2 separate regions of the Homo sapiens genome follow, and region 2 is linked to region 1. The links are contacts of gene promoters, found by promoter capture Hi-C in blood cells and fetal thymus (Javierre and others, 2016). All regions are on one chromosome and are shown on one strand. Each heading gives the region's core, a stretch centred on a gene start or on the middle of the fragment in contact. The rest is flanking DNA. Distances are from core to core; before and after follow the strand shown.

Region 1 (4,581 bases), core at 85-2,584:
GTGGGAGAGGGAGTGGGATTAAAAAAACCTACAAATGAGGCACAATGTACGCTACTTGGGTGATGAGTGCACTAAAGTCCTAGCATTTGCCACGATGTAATTCATCTATGTAAACAAAAATCACTTGTATCCCCAAAGCTATTGAAATTTAAAACATATTTTAAATAAAATAAAAACCAAAGCATTGTGTATATAATGACATTTCTAGTCATTAAACATGAAATAAAAATGTAAATTTAAACCCCTTCCAAAAAATAAAGTGGTAAAATTTTATGGCATGTTTGAGGACCTGGAAGGATGCTAGATTGTAGGGTTCTCAGGAAAGGGAGACACGGGCTGGGGCCACCAGACAGTCGTGTCCAGAGCCTTCAGGACCAATCTAATGACTGTCACTTCCTCTCCATTGTCAGTTCTCATTAGGTGAGAAAACGTGCTGATGATTTCTCTGGGTCTGCTTTGAACCAAAGCTGCGTTCTCCATCAATTTAGCTTGGGCTGGCCCAGATTCAGGATTGACACTGTCTCTAGCTCTGGCCTCAGCGAGCATCTTAGGGATTCTAGGTTGAGGTAGGTACCTCGCAGACCCAGGTTGCCTCCAGAGGTGAAGTGCTTGGGCTCATAGGAGTAGACACAGTGAAAATAGTGGTGGGGCTGGAGAGGATGGGAGTGAATGAACTTAAATACCCTAGAGTCTATTTAGGCTAGCACTTTATACCCATTATCCCATTTAATCTTTACAACCACCCATTCGGAATGTCAAGGCATTGAGGGCAGAGAGCTGAAGGGACTTGGTTCCAGCCACACAAGAGCAGGAGGCAGAGCTGTCTGTCCCCAGAGCCTTTTGGGGGACTGATCTTATGTGGGATTCTCAGCAGGATTTCCAAGGAGTGGATTAAATTTTCTCCCGGCTGGAGGGACATGAAAAGTCCTAAAGCCTGGCTCTTGATCATCTCCTGGGCAGATGTCCCCTTTCAAAGTCCCTCCCTCCCTGACCCTTGCCTGGCTTCCTCTCTGCTCCCAGCGGGCAGTGTGCTGCACCTCACAGGTTCAATTGTCAGAACACCCCCCGAGTCCGGGCACAGAGGGGAAGGCAGCCAATGGGACCGGACACCCAGCTGGGTTTGGGGACCTCTCCTCTCCTTGCCAGCTCCACACTGGTGGCCTGGGTCCTCAGAACCCACTGGGCCCCCGCTGCACCCCAGGTTCTGCCTGGCTCACCTTCCACCAGTAGCACCATCCCCACAGCCAGCACCTCGAGCTCCCCGAAGCCAGTGGGCAGGGCACTGGTCTCTGCCATCCTCACTCTCCCTCACTGCCAGTGGCCCAGCTGTCTCTGGCTTCCCACAGCCAGGCCCTCCCTTTTAAAGGGCCATCCCATGTGCGTGGAGGCACATGCAGGTTATTATGTTGGACCTTGGGCTGTTTCTGGATGCCTCCCCGCTGCAAATGGTCCTCTTGGCCCAAGCAGAAGGAACCCATTCACGAGTTGGACAATGCAGCCTTTGTGAAGCCAGAATGGAGCCCTGTCTCATTCATTTCAGCCCCATTGCACAGGATTAAGGTCGGGGAATCCAAATGGTGTGTGGCTGAGAGCCTAATTGGAAAAGAGTTGCATAACCAGGGGAGGGGAGCAGGAGGAGGGATTTGAGCCGCAGCTGTTCCCAACAAGCCTGGTGCCTGTGTGTGTGTCCTCAGGCTCACATGAGTATACTCCAAAGCGCTGGGGAAAGGATGAGGCTTGGGAAGTCGCCTGCTGTCAGAGGAAGAACCCCATCTGGGACCAGAAAATGGGGTTGGGGTTCTGGTTCTGAATCTGCCACTAACTAGTTATGCGCCTTGGAGTGGGACCACTGGACTCTTCCGTTTACTTTTCTGCAATGTCAATGTCTTTTGTCTGTGGCCTTTATATAAGTCCTGGTTAGATATCACGAATATAAACCTCAGGGCTGCATTTCCTGTCTCCCATAGAGCACCTGAGCATAAAAAATGTCCTAGGACACTGTCTTAGAACAGAGGGGCTGCCTGCCGTCTTGTCAGTCTCCGACCCCGAACCCGCCCAGCCTTGCCGGCCCCACTAAGAGCTTTGGCTGCTACAAATGACTTCTTGATACACTGGCTCTTTATGCACTGTTATGCTCTGGCTCATGATAAAATTTACACCAGGAAATACTGATCTAGGACAACTTAGTTCATTTTCAGATAAAGAAACCAAGCTCCAGAGCACTATCAGCAACATAGCTAATATTGAGTGAGGTCAGGCCCTGTGCTAGGGGATCTTCTGATGAGTCCTACAACAACTCCATGAGTTAGATACCATTATCCTTTCCATTTTAGATGAGGAAACTGTGGCTAAAAACAGTTAAGAATCTGCCTGAGGCCATGCAGTAATTTATGGATGGAGCTGGAACAAAAGCCGATCTCCTATTCCTCAGGCTCAGGCATTTTTCAATGGCATCTTCTGACTCACCTGGTAGAGCAACCCACTCTGTTCCAGGAATGCCCACTTCCCAGGCCTTTCCTCTCATGAGTCCTCACTTACATCCAAGCCTAATCCCTCTGCAGGGCTGAGCTTATGGCTGCGCCCTCCAGAGCGTTCCCTGTTCTTTCTCAATTTCTTTTTTGTTTTTTTGTTTGTTTTTGAGATGGAGTCTCGCTCTGTCGCCCAGGCTGGAGTGCAATGGCGCAATCTCGGCTCACGCAACCTCTACCTCCCCAGTTCAAGCTATTCTCCTGCCTCAGCCTCCCGAGTAGCTGGGATTACAGGCATGTGCCACCATGCTCGGCTAATTTTGTATTTTTATTAGAGACAGGGTTTCTCCATGTTGGTCAGGCTGGTCTTGAACTCCCGACCTCAGGTGATCTGCTGGCCTTGGACTCCCAAAATGCTGGGATAACAGTCATGAGCCACCCTGCCTGGCCTTCTGTCTCAATTTCTACCTTATGGTGTTGGTTAATACATATGTCAGTCCTTTTTTCATGCCTTCGAGATCACAAAAGCCTTCATGAGAGGAGATAAAGCAGGGCAAGGCCAAGATTAAAGGGTAAAGTTCATTTGGGCAAAAGACACAAGGAGGAAGAAGCAGAGATGTGGGAACAGGCAAGCTGACGGCTGGGTTTGGGGAGGTGGAAGTATAGCTGGGAAGCACTGAGAAAATCCTACTGGCTGCATTGGAAGGAAGGAAAGAATGAGAAGCCAGTATTGTTGAAACAGACCTGGCTCCGAGCTAGGCATTTTATGTGTGCACTGGGGCCCCAGATATCTTTGCAGGTCATACCTCACTGGTCTAGGCCTGCCTGGAGCCACAGGCATGAAGGACTGGGGAACCTTCTAGAAAAGCCAAACAACATAGGTAGGGCATGCTGGACCAGAGAACAATGCCTCAGGGTCAAATGTGAAGAATGAATGAATGAGTCGACTGAGTGTCTACTGCTGGGAATCATCCCTGGTCAGTCCCCACTGGCATCTTGAGTAGATATGGTGGGGCGAGATAGGGTTAGGAGAGAATAAGTAAAAATTGAAATTAGTCTGGGTGCAGTGGCTCAGGCCTGTAATCCCAGCACTTTGGGAGACTGAGGTAGGAGGATCGCTTGAGGCCAGGAGTTTGAGACCATCCTGGGCAACATGGCAAGACCCTGACTGCAAAAAATAATTTTTTAAAAATAGCCAAACATGGTGGTGGTTGCCTGCAGTTCCAGCTACTTGCGAGGCTGAGGCAGGAGGATGGCTTGAGCTCAGGAGTTCGGGGCTACAGTGAGCTATGATTACACCATTGCACTCCACTCTGAGTGACAGAGCAACCCTGTCCCTATAAAGCAAAACAAAGCTTTATGGATGGAGAATTTCCAAAGGCCCTTATTAGAGGTTGGGGTCCTGTCTCCAAAAAAACCTGAAAGTGCCTTCTCTAAGACCTCTCTGAGCTACCTCTCTGGGGCCCTCCTTGGAGTAGGGCACCTTGAGGAGAGGGGTGCCCTTGTCCCTTATGTGGAGACATCTCCACCTTTGGCATTCGTAGCAATGCCCAGAAGGGCTCAGCTGAAATAGTAGTGTGTTGAGTCCATATCCATGGGGCACTCAAGGCAGGCAGCTGTTTGCCTGGCAGCCTGGGACAGTTTGTGGGCTCATGAGAGACACCTCTGATGTCTCCCCAAAATATCTGAATCTGTCCAGTTCTTCTGTAAGTAGGGTCTTATAAGTACCAGTGAAACTGGGCACTTACAACTTGTGAGAGAGCTTCTGTTCCCACAGGCTGTCAAGGCCTTGGAATTTGAGTTTGATTTTCACAAACACCCTGCATGAAGTAACTTTATTTCTCTTTGTCAGATAAGGACACAGAGGCCAAGAGATAATGTGACTCACCCAAGGTCACAGCCCCTTAATGGAGCAGCTGGGATTTGACCCCAGGAAGCCTGGGTCCAGAGCTTAGCCTCCTTCCAATGCCTTTAGCACCATCAGGAAGAGTTGCTTCATTTCACTGCTTTTTTGCTATGAGACAGTGTCACAGGAAAGAATTTCCAAAGGCCCTTACTGAGGCGGGGGTTCTTTCTCCATCTTCCCTGGCACTCCAGTGGGGTCTGTGTTGTC
Region 2 (4,318 bases), core at 1,229-3,728, 150 kb before region 1:
ACAGAGATATAACAGCCAATTATTAGAAGTTCTAGAAAAGGGGCACAGAAACAATGGAGGGGATATAATAATTAAATATGAACATTTTCCAGATTTAAAAGAATAATGGAACAAATTCTCCAGGAAGGTTTAAAAAAATGCCATTATCTTATTTAAAATTACTAGCTGGTAGGTACCCAAAACATATTTAGTGAAAATAAATAAATCCAGACTAACACTCATCCCGACTTCTAATCCAGTGTTCCTATCTCCGACTCTTATTGTGACACCCAAAAATTCCTACTCCGAGAGATTTCAGGTAAACTGTTTCTGGAAGTGTGGGAAATACACATACACCATGGAATATTACTCAGCCATAAAAAAGAATGAGATCATGTCTTTCACAGTAACATGGAACTAGAGGGTATTATTATAAGTGAAATAACTCAGAAACAGAAAGTCACATACCACATGCTCTCACTTATAAGTGGGAGCTAAACAATGGGTACAGCTGGACATACAGAGTGGAATAACAGACACTGGAAACTACAAAAGGTAGGAGGATGGGAAGGAGGTGAGGGCTTAGAATTTACCAATAGGTACAATGATCATTATTCAGGTGATGGGTATGCTAAAAGCCTAGATTTCACCACTACACAATATACACATGTGAAAAATCTGCATCTGTATTCCCAAAATATATAAAAATTAAATTTAAAAAATCTTTCTGGAAAATAGGCTCAGGCCATGACTCTAACTCTCTGTAAAACTCAAATGGCCAGATGTGGTAAGAGTGAACAACTTTAAACAAGCTTACAAAACATCACCAGAATACAGGCACTGTACAGAAGAAACTTCCTTAAAATATACTGGTTCCCAGACCAAGAAAACAGAACAAGGCTCTGTGAATATGTCTACATAAATTCTTCACAAAGAATACCCTATGAAACAAAATTATTACTTTAAAAAAAAAAGTCTGTTCATCATTGTATTCCCTGTGAATTATTAACCAAAGAGGGTAGACTTCAGCTATAGCTCAATTCTTTACAAATTTCTCTTCTGCTCTCAAGAAATGATCTTAGATTTTTCTCTATCCTTCCCTGGAACAAACCTACCTTAACACCCAGGAACTTTAAAAATAAACAGGAATAAATTCAAAATCTGAGAAATAAAGAGGAAGAAATGAGTAGGAAAGCATGTAGCTCCTTTCAAAAGGCACAAACAAATATTGTTTCATTTTGGCGTGTCTCCATGCTAAAATTATGGCTTCTCAAAATATTTTAAGAATTCTACTACAATAAAAACAGGAGTTTCAGAGAAATGAAATAATTTTCCTGATAAGCAGAATAATCCCTGTAAATATGATAGCTTACATAGCAAAGAGGGAATTATGGTTGCCAGTCAGCTGACCTTAAAATAGAGGTATTATCCTGGATTATCTGAGGGGGCCCAATGTATAATAATCACTCAGAATGGAAGAGGGAGGCAGAAGACAGACAGAAGGAGAATGGTCAAAGAGGTGCGGTGTTGCTCGGTTTGAAGACAGAGGAAGGAAGTCATGAACCAAAGGCAGTTTTTAGAAGGTGGAAAAGACAGGGAAATGGATTCTTCCCTCGAGTCTCCAGGAAGGCACCTAGCCCTGCTGACATCTTGATTTTAGCCTGCAGAGACATGTGTCTGACTTGTAAGCTAGAGAGGATAGTAAGATAACAAACAGTGTGTTGTTTTAAGCCATTGTATTTGTGGTAATTTGTCACAGCAGCCAGAGAAAACGAATACACCCTGTTTCTCAAATGCTATAATTAGGCTTATTTGTTTCTACTGTTTTAGAGTCAATCCTATACTTACTGCATTCACTTTCTATAATTTAAATATTTGTTCCTTCCTTTCTGTGATGCCTTACAAAGGCTGAAACAGAAATAGGCCACTACAGAAGCACATTAGCACCTGAAAAAGGAGAAGAGTCAGGTGTGACTGGTGGGACTTCTAATGGTTGCAGTAATGTAATATGTTGTAGACCTCAGCAGTAAGCTCAAATCAAGTTTTGCTTGACTGGACTTTACTTAAGCCTTTTAAAATTTACTTTTTTACTTCAGCCTTCACAGGCTTCAGATGAGTAATTTCAGCTATACTGATTATAACAGTCGGTGGCAGACTTCAGTTAACATATATATTTAATAAATCAAAATGCCAAGTGCATTAGTGGTATGTGTAGTCTTTTTGTTAGATGAGAGAAAATGAATGTATTGAGTGACCTCAATTCCTTTAGCAGTCAGAATTTCCTTATTTTAGGTTCAATTTTCTGTCCTCAAACCAGTCAAGTTACAGTGCATCCATCAGTGCCCATTTAACCTGAGGACAGCCCCATCACATTTTTGTATATTACATCAAATGAAGTTTCAGTAACATTTTTTAAAAGCTTTTCTTTTTGTTCTGTTTTACTGCAGAATTTCATATCTTAAGGACATTATACTTTGGGGGAGGTGGTAATAAAAATATCATAGGATGATTTTATGAGTAGATTATGGTAATACCAGAGATTTATTAATCAATGCACTTAAGATTTACCAGTAAGCTTTAGGTAAGAGTAGAAAGTCACTGGAATGTTCTAGGAAAATAGAATACCATGCATAGCAACTTTCATATAGTAATACTGACTAGCACTTTTATATGCAGAAGTTTCTACACAACTGAATAGGAGCTGGTATGGACACAAGTAAGGTGGTAGATGTGTTTTTTTATCTAAATTACAAAAATAATACTGCTCTATACTAGCATAGTCATTACGGCAGTTTATAACTGTAAAATATTGGAAACAATCTTGATGCCCATTGTTGGGAGAGTAATTGAATAAACAATGCACAATCTACAAAATAAGTAGTATACAGCGGTACAAAAAGAATAAGGATGATCTCGGCCAGGTGTGGTGGCTCACGCCTGTAATCCCGACACTTTGGAAGGCCAAGACGGGTCGATCACTTAAGCCCAGGAGTTCAAGACCAGCCTTGGCAACATGGTGAAACCCCATCTCTACCAAAAATACAAAAATTAGCCAGTCTCATAACCCAGTCTCAAAATAAACAAACAAATACATACATAGGTTAAAATTTAAAAATAAAATATTTTTTTAAAAAGAAGAAAAGGGAAGATCTCTATGAAGTAACATGAAATAAATGAGTACTTTAAATAAACCACGATGTGGGCAGAACCCAAAACGAAATACAAACAGCAACAAATGAACCTAAAAGTATTACAAATGAATAATACAATCACGCTGAAAGGATTGAGAACTAAAACAACTAACGTAAGTAAACTTGGAAAACAGTACTTATTGTATTCTGTAAGGTTAAGGTTTAAAAAAAAAATGCTAAACAAATATTGTAAGTTAGTAAATCTTTTTCATAGGGTGTAAGTTAGCAATTCTGAAACTGTGTGTATATAATATAGTATAAATATAGTATAGTTATGGTATATAATATACTATATATACTATATCTATAACTATGTATGAATATATACTATAATCCTTATACACACACACACACACACACACACACACACACACAGTGTTGAATAACTAAGAAAATATATTGTGGTTGAGAAACCAAGTTTCTCACTTTCTGAGAAAAGGCTTAAAAATAAGAAGAAAGGCTAGAACAAATTCTGTGGCATTTGATTGGAGTCAAAGGTATCCGTGTGAGCTCTTGGTCTTTAATATATACGGAAATGGATACAGAAATAAATATAGAAGAGAAGTGTGTGTGTATACATATAATTGTCAGTTCTGTCTGCCACAATAACTAAAAGTAATTACACCTCAGTAGCAACGAACACACCTAGGCCCCAGATCTTGGTTTCTAAATCTCATTCTCCAATAAAAATCTTCCTTGGAGACATAATGACTCAAGGGCTAGGGCAGGGAAAATACAAGATAAGCCTGGAATATTTTGTGGTCATATGAGACACTACTTATTCAGCTACGGCTGAAATCTGGGTTTCCCAATGGTTGGTCTAATGTTATCATGCTATTTTCTCCTTCACCATGTACTAAAAGGTAGAAAGAGGTTCCACAGACCAACTTTCCTATCTGTGTCTCCATGCAACCCAACTTAAGCTACCAAGCTGGCAGCTTCTGCTAATACAGGTTGCCTGACTCCCAGGACCAGGAAAGGGATAAAAGATTGCGGAAGTACCACACAAATGCCACTAGAAGTTGAAGAGCCTGAAAGCAATACTTATAATCACCACGGGACAATAAAACCAAATAACCTAAATTGAAAAATATTTAATTACTTATTCAGGCCAGAATAGCAACTTCAACAACTCCTAAAATTCATTC

What was found. Contacts are between HindIII fragments. The CHiCAGO score rates a contact against its expected background, and 5 or more counts as called.
Region 2: a contact is called between a fragment that was not itself captured here and the fragment with the promoter of RGR in region 1, in 1 of 17 cell types (total CD8 T cells). The highest score is 5.1, in total CD8 T cells.

The regions. Positions count from the first base shown.
Region 1 is chr10:84,241,806-84,246,386 of GRCh38, reverse strand. RGR (retinal G protein coupled receptor) reads right to left here and starts at 1,334. Exons shown (of 7, transcript NM_001012720.2): 1 at 1,218-1,334. The coding sequence starts at 1,296. RefSeq lists an enhancer at 689-1,188. The HindIII fragment of the contact is 12,009 bases long and covers 1-3,825 here.
Region 2 is chr10:84,395,413-84,399,730 of GRCh38, reverse strand. All of the region lies in intron 3 of CCSER2 (coiled-coil serine rich protein 2), which reads right to left. Among named protein-coding and RNA genes, the nearest start is that of CCSER2, 69 kb to the right of the region's middle. The HindIII fragment of the contact is 156 bases long and covers 2,401-2,556 here.